Regions from separate parts of the Homo sapiens genome. Here region 2 is linked to region 1. Evidence: promoter capture Hi-C in human tissues and cell types (Jung and others, 2019). All regions are on one chromosome and are shown on one strand. The core of a region is centred on a gene start or on the middle of the fragment in contact, and the rest is flanking DNA. Distances in the headings are between cores, read along the strand shown.

Region 1 (7,343 bases), core at 3,508-6,007:
CTTAACTAACTAAATATCAATGAAATTATGTAATAGAACTGCACATTGTGTATTTTTTAGTGGCTAGCTTCTTTTCTTGAGTTTTATTGTTGTGTTTTTAATATTCATATTTATTAATTTTATCCTGAAGGTACACATGGTGTTGGATCAGAAACAGATGATTTACTTAAGAGCAAATAATGACCATGCGGTCCTCTGGATCCCAATTCTTACCCTTGGCACAACACAGTGAAAGCCAGGTCAGATGTCCTAGGCGTACAAACTTTGAAGTCTGTATCACAGATGAGAAACAAGAGAAAAAAATAATTTAGTGTGTTTACATACAGAAGCAAGAGAAAACTATCTTTTCCACCCCTCCCCAAAAGATAGAAAAAAAAAATCTTTGCTCCTTGGATGCAATAATTTTGGGTTCTCTAAATGTTTCAAATATAAATACATTTCTTCAAAGCCAAATGCAGTGAGTAGGTCTAAATTACCTAGTCTATTACTACGGGAAACAAATGTTCCCAATAATTTTTTTTTTCTCTGACTCATTAAGGGTTTAAAATACATTGAATTTTGAATAACAAATTGTGATATCTGACTTTCATTAATGTCTAAATTCACTTAAGACAAAACTCAGGTAGAACAGTTAGGGGATACTGCCCCTTTTGGGAAAGGCACTTGCTCTTAACTTCGGTAATCTTCCCCATCCCTATTGTCTGTATTCAGCCACTTTATTTAAGTAACATGCCTACTTGGCCACTGTAAGCATTCTTATTAAATGGAAACCTTTCTAATTTAATGCTTTTTTTTGTTCCTAGAATCTTGTTCATTAACAAGATCTTCATTCTCTAAATTATGGTCACCTTCATTCTTAGCACCAGTATGGGGTATAGGACCATATTCCTCATGCTATCCCTATTCAATGACTGATCCTCCCTCCAGCCTATTCCAAAAATGTCTTTCTTACTTCTCTAGGACCCAGCCTCTCATAATAATAACTCCACTAATAATCCCTTAATAGTCCACTAATCAGCCCTTATTATTATTACTGAAGAAAAAGAAACTGGAACACATCCTCAGTAATTATTACAAGAGGCTGGTTGTTAAAAGTCCCAGCACTACCCTTGATTTACATGGTAAATTTACTTCTCAGAATTTTTCTTATTTTTCAACTAGTTAACTTAGTGTAGTAACGATTGCTCCTCTCACATGAAACGGAGTATAAGTAAACAGGAAAATGTGAGACATTAAAATTAGAGTAAGACCAAAATCATTATGTAGATTTCTAGATAACATTTTACAACTGTGAATTGTTTTATCAGCATATATTGAGGAACTACTGTTGCCTATGTGTCGCACTATTTCATGCCCACATATAGCTTCAAAGAAATAGAAAGAATATGTTGGTTCTCAAGGAGCTTAAATTTTATCTGGAGAGATCACATAGAAAGCACTATAAAATATACATGAAATACTTTTCTATATCTAAAATAACAGCATAAAAGAAAGCATATTATGCTACTAGAAAGCCAGTTAGAAAGGTAACGATAAGTTGAGGACGTTGAACAAGAAAGGCTTTTGAAAAAGGTTCTTGGGTCAATTTTCAGGAAAGTTTTAGACATAGACTTATGAGAGAGGGGGAAAGTATTCCAGCAAGTGGCAATTTTTGCAGAGCTTTTATTTTCAAGTGCTCAATTGGTTCATCTCTATTTTTTGTCAGCAGACTTTTAAAGGGGATTTTGTGGTGTTGGTTGGAATTGATATATTTTTAATGCTCAAGAATATGTAGACAGTCAAGTATTATTATAGGTAATCATCTCGAGTCTTCAGTTCAGTCTTGACATCTTCCCTCTCAACAGAAATACTGCACTTTCTGCAGGAGGTAAGGTGTTCAGCATGTAGATGCTGACCTTAAGGAGTTTATGATTGATTACCTTAGAGATTTAGGCACCTAAGTGAGAAGTTAAACCACATGCAGTGGCTACCTAGCCATTCCAGAAATGTCGTAAAGCAGTGGATGATAAATATCAAAAACACCAGTACTGACAAGTCCCAGCAAAGTTCACAGGAGGTGTAATCCTTGGAAGAAAAAGGCTTCAGGGAAAAAAAAAAAGTAACTTAAAATCAGTTCAGCCTGGGAATCACAGAGGTCCTCTAATCCAACTAGATGAATCCCTTCTATGAAATCACTAATAAATGGCTCTCCTTTTTTTTTTTAATCCTCACCAGTACCAGAGAATTTGCTTTCATGAGACATCAATTTAAAAGTTTTAGAAATAATGTCCTTCCTTATACAAAGTCTCAAATCAGCCTCCTTCTTAAATTTAATAGTGCTATCCAGAGCTTCTCAGATCAGTGCTTTGGCATCCTCCAGCACTCCAGTGTGTCACAGGTGTGCTGACTTATTTATTTCCTTAGCCCTCCAAGCTGTCCTGCAGAGACTGAAGTACCCACAGCCCCAGAACTATGGCCATGAGAAACCTCCTGTGTTTATCACATTGCCATAAATAGTATCACCTCTTATGTGTACTCTGCTGTAAAAAAGATTGTGAAGCATTGCTCAGTATAATGTGTTGGCAAAGAGATCAAGTCTCTGGAATCACACAGACCCAAGTTAGAACCTTAGCTCTGCCCGATATTAGTTTTCAGGCCTTGGAAAAGAAACTACATCTTTTCAAGCCTCAATTTCTACATTGCAAAATGGGTGCAATAATACTGCCTCCCTTGTGAAGTTGGTGTAAAAATTAAAGATGATAACATAATAGCACTAACAAAAAAGTATTATTGTTATTTGTTCTGCTTTTACCCTTTTAAATATACTATAGAATTCTTCTTCTATTTTTAGAAACTTCAGAATATTTGAAGCTAGTTTATTGTTTCCTCTCAGTATTCTCCTATGGCTAAATAGCCTAAGTTCCTAAGTTTTTCCTCGTCAACATAAATTCAAGTTCCTTCTACATCTTAGTTTCTCTCTTTATTTCTTTTTGCATATGTAGTACTAAGAACTGGATGCATCCCTGTAGATTTGGCTTGACAAACTAGTCCTTGAAGTGTGGATGGAATAGGGCAGTGGAGGAAAGATATTCATGCTGGAGAACCGTGTAGTAAGCAAAGGAGAAGTCATAATACATCTGTCATGTTTATCAACAAATGGGCCTCACTGGCTACAAATATAATCATATGGGGGAAAAAGAATTTTAAAGAGGGAGCATTGTGAACTCCTGTAATCATGTGACTATAGATTCTATCCAATGTAATGAAATACCAACATAATTGTCATTAAAGGAGATAGATCTCTCTTTTGAAAGCAAGCAACCACAGTATTTATGTGAGCTACAAGCACAATGTCATAATACATACTATAATCCCTAATCCCTTTTTTCTTTTTTTCTTTTTTTTTTTTTTGAGACGGAGTCTTGCTTTGTCGCCAGGCTGGAGTGGTGCAGTGGCACGATCTCTGCTCACTGCAACCTCCGCCTCCGGCTTCAAGCGATTCCCCTGCCTCAGCCTCCTGAGTAGCTGGGAGTACAGGCACGCGCCACCACGCCCGGCTAATTTTTTCTATTTTAGTAGAGACGGGGTTTCACCATGTTGGCCAGGATGGTCTCGATTTTCTGACCTCGTGATCTGCCCGCCTCGGCCTCCCAAATTGCTGGCATTACTGGCGTGAGCCATCGTGCCCAGCCCATCCATACTATAATCCTTTTTTGCTCCCCTAGAATTGTCCCAACAGGATGCTGGAAAACTGGAGATTATCTGCAAGCTACACATACCCTGGGCTTTCAGTGGCTGTTGGCTATTGCAGTCCACTCTGGTTGAAAGAGGCTGGTGACACAGTTACCTTGTCCTATCCTAAGAGTCACAACTCAGAAGATTCAACCTTCAGATTTCCTTTATTCCTGAGCCCTTTTATTCTGGCCTTCTGGTCTTTCTTCCATTCATTCCATATAGCATAACGCTTAGAATCTGTTGGTGTTCATCCCCCCCCCCCCACCTCTGCTAAGTATTAGTTGTGTGACATTGGGCAAATTATTCTACTTTGTAACTCAGTTTTGCCTTCTGTTAAAATGAGGATTTTTTTTTACAGTACTTTAACAATAAATTGTGACCATTAAATGAGATAATGTATCTATAGTGCTTAGAAGAGAGCCTGGCAATAATAAGCGCTATTTATGTTAACTGTTATTTTGAGTCATTATTATTCATACATTCAACGAATACCACTGTGCTAAATACAGGGGATGTGTTGGTACATCGGACAATCTCTTACCCCTTATGGTCATATTTCTTCTGATTTTGTGAGACACGCAATGACTTTCGAATCTGACTCCTGGATGCAATTTCAGAAGCTGCTGTTGGTAACTGTGGATGAGGCACTTACCCTCTCTGAGCCTGTTTCCACATCTGTAAAATGAGGATTAATAAAATCTACTTGGAAGATTTGTTTTGACTATTAAAAAGACAAAATATGCAAATTATCTGGCACATTTGAAGTCGAATATACTTTCCTTTTCACAGTCTTGTGGCCACACCTGAGGCTAGGGAACTCCACTCTAGGCTTAGAAAACAGTGCTGTCTTCTTAAGTGCTGGGGAGGAGTAAGAGGGTATGGCGGGAACTCATCTGCAGGAAGGGTAAAACCCAGAAGGCGTGGGAGGAGACAGAGACAGGAGGGATGCAGGGACCGCCCCTGGCCTACAACTCCCGGGATGCTCCGGGAGCGCCCCGCCCCGCCCCACCCCGCCCGCCGTGGCGGGCGCTGCCCACCCGGCGGAGCCGAGCGGCGTGCAGAGGCTACAAGTGCCGTAGCTGGTGATTGGGGGACTTTCTCCGGGAACCGTGCCGGGAGAGCGCGCGGTGCTGGAGCCGCACCGGGTGGCCGAAGCAGAAGGTGAGTGGCGGGGAGTGGGATGGGGTGGAGGCTTTGAATGCAAGGGTGAGAGCCCTGGAGCCTAGCAGAGCTGGAGCGCATATCCCCGCTCTCTCTCCTTCGTCTCCGAGTACTAGGCGGACACATCCGTACCTCGAATGCCTCAGTGGGCGCAGAGTTCACCAGAAATGGATAGCCGGATTCCTCGGCGCCTGCTGGGGGCACCGCTGCCAGGTGCTTGGGGCTCGCTCTCCCGGCTTTGCTCGCACAGGGCGCATCCAGAGGTCGCCTCCCCGAGATCAGCCTTGCCTGTGTCAGTTTAAAGCAAATATTAATGCTTTTAATTGATGACAGATGGACGAGGGAAAGTGCGTGTCCCCTCGCTTTAAGGTGCAATGTCGTTAACTGGGCTTTTAAGCAGATCAGAGGAAAAAGAGGGAGAGGACGGAAGAAAAGAGTCTTTAGCTGGTCCCCTGGGATTATCCATTCTCCACTGAGAATGGAAACCCCGGATTAGGGAGCTGCAAAGGAAATCGACTGTGCTGCTAGCATACCTCCGGTAGAACAAGCGAACAAGCGGGAGTAGCTTTTCTTTAAAGAGAGGTAGAGGCGGCCGTAGGGAATTAAGTGGGGATTTCTCTCTTCTTTTGTTATAAACTGAAAGTCTCAAAGAACCCTGCTGATTTTATCCAAGGTAGGCTAGTGTGATGAGTTAATGGTACCAAAGGTTAATCAGAGCCCCTAATGCCTGAGAAAACTGGAAGAAGAGTTATCGGTAATTGATGAAGCCTGTTACCATCACTTCATTCATTGAGGGATCCTTTAGTGGGGGTTTGTTCTAGTTTAGTAGTGATTCTTTTGCCCTGTTGTTTTTTGCTGTTTTCACTGTAGAGAAACTCCGATAACAGGAGAAAAACGTTTTCTGTTTTGCTTTTTTTGTTTTGTTTTAAACAAACTCTTAGGTGTAGCAGAAAACATGTCAATTCCCTCTCCCATATTTTGAGTTGCCAGGTTGACCTTAGGTGACCCTTGCCTGTGTTTCTGTTACCAGCTTTGGAGCTGTGGATTTTGAATTATAAGAAGCCTCAAGCCGTTGGGTTAAATCAATTATCACCCTGGATTTGGAAGCAAAATAAAAGGAGCCTTTGGTTAAAATCTCTAATGATAGTGGAAAGTGAATTTTTATTCCTTAGAAACATGGCAGAGGCAGAGAAAAGCCGATGGTTTTCTGCTCAAACCAAAGTTCTCTCCCAGAAATGCCCCTTGCTGCAGTCGGGGGTGAGGAGTGACATGTTTATAAAATTACAGAGGTAACCTTGGAAATAGCTTCTCACCTATTTGTCTCCACAGAACTCTTACTCTGTGGGTTTATAGTTTGTCTTTTATTATCAGTTCACTTCTAGATTGGGTTTGTAAAACTATCCAGATGGTCAATTTCTTGTGCATTGTGTGATAGCAAAGCATGCAGAGAGGGAGGAACACAGACCCAGGGAACGGGAGTAGCAGATCCTGCAGCTGGAGCAGGCAGGTGTGTGTGTGGAGGAGTGGGTTGGCCCATTGTATTTTGCAGGGATTGCCGTAAGGTCTGTTGCCTGTATGCTTTGGGGTCCAGAACATGCTTCCCCCATGGAGCAGTGAGGGAATAGGGCTAAGTGGAAGCACAGTGAATAAGCAGCATATGGTCTTGTAAATACAGGGCTGTGTCACTAGGGTCATTGGATGTATGAGGTGTAAGCTTAGCAGAGGTGGCTGATTAAGCTGGCCTTTTTCATCTACTTCAGAGCTATGGAATCAAAATGCTGAGTTCCTGCCCAGCTGATAGGGGTGTATAGTCATTCACTGATGGTGATGCTCCAAAGCTAATCTGTATTAGAATTTGCTCTGAACTAGGGAGAGTGTAAACACTTACAATCTTACTGAATTAACAAGTCTATGCTTCCCCAAGTCCTCCAGAAAATCGGCAGCTCTGCTAAAAAGGGCTCTTGCCTTTCTCATTTGTCTTTTTACAGGAAACTTGCCTTCTCGTTTGAGGGATCCTTTTGCAGGAATGCGCGAGTCCTTGAATAAATTTGGCTTGGTGACGGCAGTATTCTTTCTCAGTAGACACTGCCACTTCCTCCACGCACCTTTCTACCCTGACTTAAGTTTCTCAGTGTTAATCACTATGACAAGTGAGAGCATTTGTCCCTTCCACACTTTCCTGCCACTAGGTATCCCCTCCCTTCTTTTGCCTGTTTGAGGTGGAAAAGGGGCTAAACAGGTGCAGCTGTGAAGGAAATGGGGACCCCAGGAGCAACACTCCTGGAAGTACAACCTTAGCTTCTGTTGGGTTCTTATCTAACTCTGTTGCTATTGGCAGACTTTCCGGAAGCTGCTGGGGGATGTCTGACTAGCTCTCATGGAGCTCCACTACCTTGCTAAGAAGAGCAACCAGGCAGACCTCTGTGATGCCAGGGACTGGAGTTCAAGAGGGCTGCCTGGTGACCAGG
Region 2 (7,343 bases), core at 2,818-5,317, 61 kb before region 1:
AGGTAACTGGTACCTATGGAATCACAAGATGTTTGGCCTCAGTTTTCTCAAGAGAGAAGTGGGGTTGTATACTCCTTACTCCTTGTATATTCCTTGTATATTATTCTTGTTGGGAATAAGCAAGAGGGAGAGTTCAGAGGTGGGCTGACTCCTTGAGGAGAGTGGAGAAAGTTAATGCCTGTGAACTTGAACACATGCAGTCTGGAGTTTGGCATGATGAGCTGAGCCTTGTTCTGTGTTCCCTGGTGCCACTGACGGGATAGAATTTTAGGTTGTACAGGACATTCCTTATCTAGAATAATGATTCTTATATTTCATAGTCACCTTTCTTTTCCTACTATCCTGTTTTAAAAGAGGTTGTCACTTATGTGTTTGCAGAATATGGTCTGTCCATGGGGAAATTTTCAAGTCTAATAAATTGAATAAAGGCAATGTGATTGATATTTTATAGGGCTCTTCAAATTCAAGGCTGCCCTTTATTTTAAAAGTATGCTTCTTTCTTTGGGGAAAACAAAATGCCTGTTCTTTAATAAAACTAGGATACTGGGTAATTATTTTTATTTTTTGCCTTTACTTAGCAATAATAAAAGTGGACAAGCATAGATTTGTTCCTCTGTTTAATGAGTTCTTCTGGTCTGTAAAATCCCAAAGTCGGATCATCAGCAGTCGAGTATATTTTCATACACAGTATGCTATCCACTATGAGCATAATTGAAGCAAATGAAGGAGGATAAAATAATTATTTAGCCATTGGAATACTAGGCCCAAATAATAAAGAGAATTAACATAAGGTAAGCCTCCTTCTCACAGGCACACACACATCAATGTTCAGACCAGGGGGTGGTAAGCGATCCATAATAACAATATCTCATTGTGGAACTCTGCAGGGTAACTCTCAAATAACTGCATGGCAGAGACCATAGCTTATAATGTCATAGTCTATGTTGCCAAGGCAACAACACAGCCAGCAACAGAGGCTGACATTTTGAAATGTGCATGTGATTTTATTATTTACAAGTTATAGGGAGGAGAGCAGAGCCACTGTGGTGGCTTAGAAACATCTGTCCTAATACTGCCCACATATTTCTGAAAATAGTGCGATATCATAAGTAACCACACATGTAAAGAGCCATGTGCAGACTCAGCCATTCTTTCATCTATTTATTCCTTCATTTATTGAACAAGCATTTACCTACTAAGCACCTAGTATGTGCCTTATTCTGGGAATCCAAGAGTGAACAATATAGACATAGTCTTTGCTGTTTTTGCTACATGTCTATTATGATATAAAGAAAACTTAATGGAAATCAGTGTATTGGGTCTTAATCTGAGGAGGAAAAGTAATACTCAAATAGAGAACAGGTTGCGCTGCTCTCATCCCTATATCCCGTCATGAATATTTGGATGGTAACAATTATGTTGCTCTTTGTTTTCACATTCTTTCCTCAAATGGCGATTCTAATGGGTTTTTATCCCTCAAGATATTTTGAGAAAAGTAAGTTTCTTACTAAATAATTTTGAAAAATGCAAAAGATAGAGTTTATCTTACTCCTACCAATTCACAGGAACAGTTCTTGATATGATGTTTCCGTAGAACCGTATTACGCAGTATTGGTGTTCCAAGGAATGTATTTTGGGGAAAGTTATCTTAGTATCCTTTATAAATTGAAATAGTGGTGACGACACTGGCAATGCATACATTAGCTGCGGCATTTGAAAGGCTATAAGCAACATACATACCATGGCATCCATGGCAGAGAGAGGACTGCATTCATAATTTATGAATCCCAAAGATATTATTCAACCTTTTATAACAGCTTCTTGTCAGGAATAAGCAGCAGGATTCCTACAATTAGAAAACATTTCTCACAATATGCCTCAGTGATATATCACTTATGCACCTTCCTGATGAGCTTGAATTTAGTAATCGAAAAGCCATCCCTACTAGCTATGCTTAGGAATATTTAAATAAGTGAAGGCAACATCCTGTTTTAATGCAGCTATTTATTGAAGCATAAGTGCAATCCAAAAATGCAGGAGGATAGCAACTGTACAGGTTTGCAAAAGGACAAGGGTGATGAGGCTCGATTGCTGATAGAGCCACCTCAGGTAAGTTGTCTGACAAAGCCACCTCAGTTATGTTGGCTGATAGCAGGTGATGTCTGTTCCACGCCATCCCTAGCTGCAGATTTGGTGAGCAACACCAGAGTGCTTGCACAGCACTGGGGCTCATGACTCATTGACTTATTGCTTTTGAAATAAAATTTCTCTCCCTTGAAGTCAGCTGAGGACATTGCAATTCTTCTGTCTGCTTTTGCTATCAATTTTATTCAGCTGGCACTGCCCCATTGCTACCTGGTAATACAATTTAATGTGTGAGGGGAAGAGAAATCATAGTTCTTACTTCCTACAGAGGGCGAGAAGATTAAAAGATCCGTGCAGAGCCCCTGCTGTGGAGAGACTGCAAAGGTGTTATTAGATGGAGACAGTGCATAATTCTTATGCCCCTTGCAGCATCAGTGAGCAAATTGTATTTGCAGGCAGGTGCTTCTGAATACCAAAATTGCCATGACTATGTGTGGAGGACAAAGTCTGCGTGATGGTTTGGCTTGAAGCCTGTCTCTGAGACAGCTTGGTGCAGGCACAGATGTCCCAAGTAGTAATGCGACAGAGCAGCCCTCATGCTGAGAAACACTGTATTGTCTGCCTCTTCTCAGCACCCTCTGCATATGTTCTTGTATTTTTATATCCATTTCACTCTCACACTTCACTGATCTTTTAAATTTGTAAATTAACAAAAGAGATGACTCTGTTTCAAATGAAACTAAACTGAGCTACCTACTAAAAAAAGCCAGAGGGCTGCTATCTAAAGGGTGCATATGTGGGAAGAAGACCACCAGTTTATCCTGGCTTTGGTTGAAATGCCAACCGGAGATTTTTTTAAATGCACATGAATTTTTTTTTTCTCTGATGTTAGAAAATCACTGAAGTCAAACAGGAGAAAGCAAAAAACAAAAAATTTTGGACTTGTAACTCTGTTTTGAAGTGAGGCATTTCCAAACACTTTCAGACATTTTAAGACCTTCCTTCTTTGCTGATCCAGACCAGACTCTGATATATGCTTAGGTGATATGTAAAAATGTGCAAGACTGGATACACCTGGGCTTGAAACAAAGCCTTTCAATGTAAAAGCAATATATGACTACTAACCTCTCTAAACTTTGATTTCCTCAAGTATATAATGGGAATAATAGTGGATCATATTTCATAAGAATGTTGTAAAGATCAAGCAATATATGTCAATGCTTACATAGAATGTGGCACGTAGTATGTGCTTATTACGTAATATACATTATTATTTTCTCTTAAAGTAAATAATCTGTTGGGAACTTAAAAAGAGGAAGTACTGGACTTACTCTCATGTATGTGTCTATGTACTTGTGTGCTTATATCTGTGTATTTTGTTTTATAATTGAAAGTAAAGGTGCTTAAGTACATTACCCATCTGTACTTGATTGGGCTAGAATTCTACTCCTCTGTGCTATTATAAATGATTTAGAAAAATGTGAATTTGGTTTCCACTAATGTCTTTAAGTCACTAAAGTAGTGTAGAGAATAGTGAGGAAATCTGGACATGTAATTCTATTTTTGTTACCAAGTTACTTTGAAGTGAGAATAGTCTAAACAAAACAGACTTTTAAAGAGATACCAGAAAGTACAAGTAACCCAGAACCTCATTGTGCAGAGTCACTCATGTTTATTCATTCATGCATTCATTCACTAAATAAATATTAATAACACATCTACAGCATGCCTGTGAGAGTTGTGAGGTACAGAAAACAAATTACTAAGGGGTAAGATATACTTACCTTAAGGAAATTGCAGTCTTTGAGGAGAGACAAATAAGTAAAGAAACACTATAACATCAATGCAATATAAAAGGAATTATAATATGAACAAATTAGGCTATTTGATTTGCAGAGCAGTTTTTTAGCATCTCTCACCTTTTCATAAAAACTGGAAGTCTTAATTCATATATGTAACAACAGTCCTTGAAATTCTTAGATAATTTTAAGTTATGTTTTTAATTTTGCTTTAGACATATTCTCTCTGTTGAGAATGTCCAATGTGGAGCTTTTTTAAAGTTATATTAGTTATATTAACTTTTCATATTTTTTGTTTTAGAACAGTTTGCCATTTAGTTTATAAAATGCCATCACACACATAGAACAGGACACATAAAATTTAAAAGTAGAATAATCACAACCCAAATAAAAGTAGTTTTCATCAAATGTTCATTTTCTGTATGGTATTAGGTAAAAGGAAATTTAATACTTTAATTACCTAAGATAAAAAAAAAGATTTGGAGCTATCAGCCTCAAATGTAGCTATATTTGAAAAAAATAAGTTATCTTTTCAAATCTTTTCTTTCTTCTTAATTTTTCTTTCTCTTGCTTGCTTGCTTACTTTTTTTTCTTCCTTCCTCCTTCCCTGTTCCTTTTTTCCTTTATTTCCTCATGCATTTTTTTTTTCAAACTTGCTGGACTAATCAGATTTATCAAAATAGCCTAGTATTTCTGACTTCTGAAACAACTAATATTCATACATAAAAACTTGACCGAAACTTAGAATTTTCACTCATTTCTTTTTCTTTAACTGAGCTTTAAAACTTAAAAATCTATACACATACTTTTGAGCAGAAGCTGTTTTCCTAAATCCTGTGCAGATAAAAGTGCCACACTTCAGTGGAAGGATCATCGGCACTTGGCTCTACTACCAAAACAGCATCTTCATGGTGAAGTCTTTTTATTTCTTGAGAATCCTATAATTATTGGTAAAATGAGGGGGGATATATGGGCTATTTGCCTATTTTTTAGTAGCAGAATTATTTTTTCAAATTCAACCTTACAAGTAATACCGTTACATAAAACAGTTAAAAATATAACTGGTCTAGCATGTTCTCACTCATAAGTGGGAGCTGAGCAATGAGAACACATGAACACATGGAGGGGAACATCACACACTGGGGCCTGTCAGGGGGTGGGGGGCAAGGGGAGGGAGAGCACTAGGACAAATACCTAATGCATGTGGGGCTTAAAACCTAGATGATGGGTTGATAGGTGCAGCAAACCACCATGGCACATGTATACCCAGGTAACAAACCTGCACATTCTGCACATGCATCCCAGAACTTAAGTAAAATTTATATATATATAAATATATATATATATATATATTTATATATCTGGTCTAACCAAGTAAGGAGATGAGCGGGCAAGCCCCTGGCCCAACTGAGGAGCTCAAGGAATCCAAAGATTGTCCTTGAAAATCTTTGAACTAGGAAATCCCTAAGGTTCCTTCTACTGCTAACAGCTTATGACTATAAGTGCTAAATAATTCACACTGAATTACACTTCTCTAAATAAATGGATGCCTTTCATTTTCACGGATGAAGTAACTGAGATTCTCTTTATGCTTGTGACATTTACTTCCTTTTTAAAAAATTGACAAAACAGTAACCTAGAATTAATCTCCCTGAAAATTACCCATGACCAGAAAGAAATTTAGGCATAAAATATATTATTACTAGACTAACAGATGAGGGCTATTGAAACAATAATAATATTTTCACATACTATTCATGAAAAAAGACCTGTCTACAGTGATCTAACTTAGTAACTCTTAAACTACTTGATTATGTTATTAGGTTGGTGCAAAAGCAATTGCAGTTTTTGCCACTGAAAGTAATGTCAAAAACTGCAATTACTTTTGCACCAACTTAATATTTCTCTTTATGTAACCTCTATTGACCTAAAATGCAGTTGATTTTACTCTTGTTAATTTTTTCTAGCTATGTATGATTACTTAATATCTATAAACCATAAAGGATATGTATAACATTAGAACTTTAATAAATCAATATTTGGTTTTAGCATTACTTATTCCAAAGAAGCTTCATACATTTATTTTAAACTAATATTCTCTACTATTACTATTAGTCACTTTGCAAACATTTTATTAATCTACTCACATTAAAGATGAAGAGGATTCCATTTAAAGTCTATAATAGAATATATATTTTCCTTTGTACATCTCACCCTTGACAACAATCAGAGCTGATTCTTTGAGCAGTAGCAGCTCATGACATTTCAGGAATTAAGAATGGGAAATGAATAACATATGTGATTTGTGTTTCATGGAGAAGGTCCTACCCTAATATTATCAGATGAAAAATGTGAGATAATCTAGGAAGAGTTTCATCTTCTGGTTATTTTTGTTACATTTGCAGATGGAGTTTTCTCTTTGCCAATCGTATTTTCAAGAATTCTAAGTGCCTGTCCCACACTAACCTGTAGCTGAGATGGTGGAGAGAGTTGAGAGCTGGTGGGGTGGGGAATCTTTGGAAGTGTTCTTCTGAATGGGAGGCATGTTATGTCATGCTGCTGCCTTCTTTTTATTAAAGAAATGATAGCTATTATAATACTTGATGGACATTTATATCTATTGTGGGCCTTATCTTCCTGGCAAAGTGATTCATTTAGGTAAAGAAGCTTCCTCCACCTCAGATTTGTCTCATATTTCCATATATCAACACTTTTTTAAGCCAGATGAAAAACCCTACAACTTTGTGATTCTTAGATTTAGGTTGGAAATCTCATTCTATTTTCACACTCATTTGTTCTCTGTATTGAATACAGTGAACAAATTTTATCCTGTATCCCAGGAGCAGCCTGAAGACACTGTGAGATCTGTGGTCTGTTTCATATAAATGAGAAGAAATTATTTTCGGCAGCCATGTTTTCTCATCTAGACGGTTAAGACATACAAATAATAACCAATAATATTCAACTCACCTGCAGCATCTTATTCTTTTCAATATCTGGAGTACTGTGTTAAGAAGTTCAGAGGCTGCTTCCAAGATCAACAGGGAGGAATGCCAATAAGAATGTGTGCCATAAGTACAGAAGAGAATGGAGACATTTGCAATAAAGTTGTCATACTTGCATAATTAAGAAATATTGTTTAACATGTTAATTTATTTCATTATCTGGGAGTGCAATATGGAACTATTTTATCTGACTCAAAGTTCATCAGGATTGCAGTTTTGCTCAAAATTTACCATTATTAGGATTATATTCTAATTCTACTGTAGTTTGCTTAAGTGTTGATCTCTGACTTGTTTTCCAAATAATGGTCATTTTTTCATGGTTCAATCAGTTGGCATTTGAGCACATTTTTATGCATTTTAAACAGCCCAGAGCCATTTTTTTTAGAAAAGTTCTAGCATTTTAGATGCCATATCTTTGGCACTGATGAAGAGTTAACAGATGAAGTAGCCCCCA

What was found. Contacts are between HindIII fragments. The study calls those that stand out against the background at their distance.
Region 2: a fragment that was not itself captured here is called in contact with the fragment with the promoter of TMEM74 in region 1 in 1 of the 25 tissues and cell types used here (hippocampus).

The regions. Positions count from the first base shown.
Region 1 is chr8:108,785,008-108,792,350 of GRCh38, reverse strand. TMEM74 (transmembrane protein 74) reads left to right here and starts at 4,757. Exons shown (of 2, transcript NM_153015.3): 1 at 4,757-4,875; 2 at 7,214-7,343. The coding sequence starts at 7,253. RefSeq lists silencers at 4,642-4,821, 5,237-5,531. The HindIII fragment of the contact is 13,104 bases long and covers 1-7,343 here.
Region 2 is chr8:108,845,591-108,852,933 of GRCh38, reverse strand. No RefSeq gene overlaps it. Among named protein-coding and RNA genes, the nearest start is that of TMEM74, 62 kb to the right of the region's middle. The HindIII fragment of the contact is 4,370 bases long and covers 1,883-6,252 here.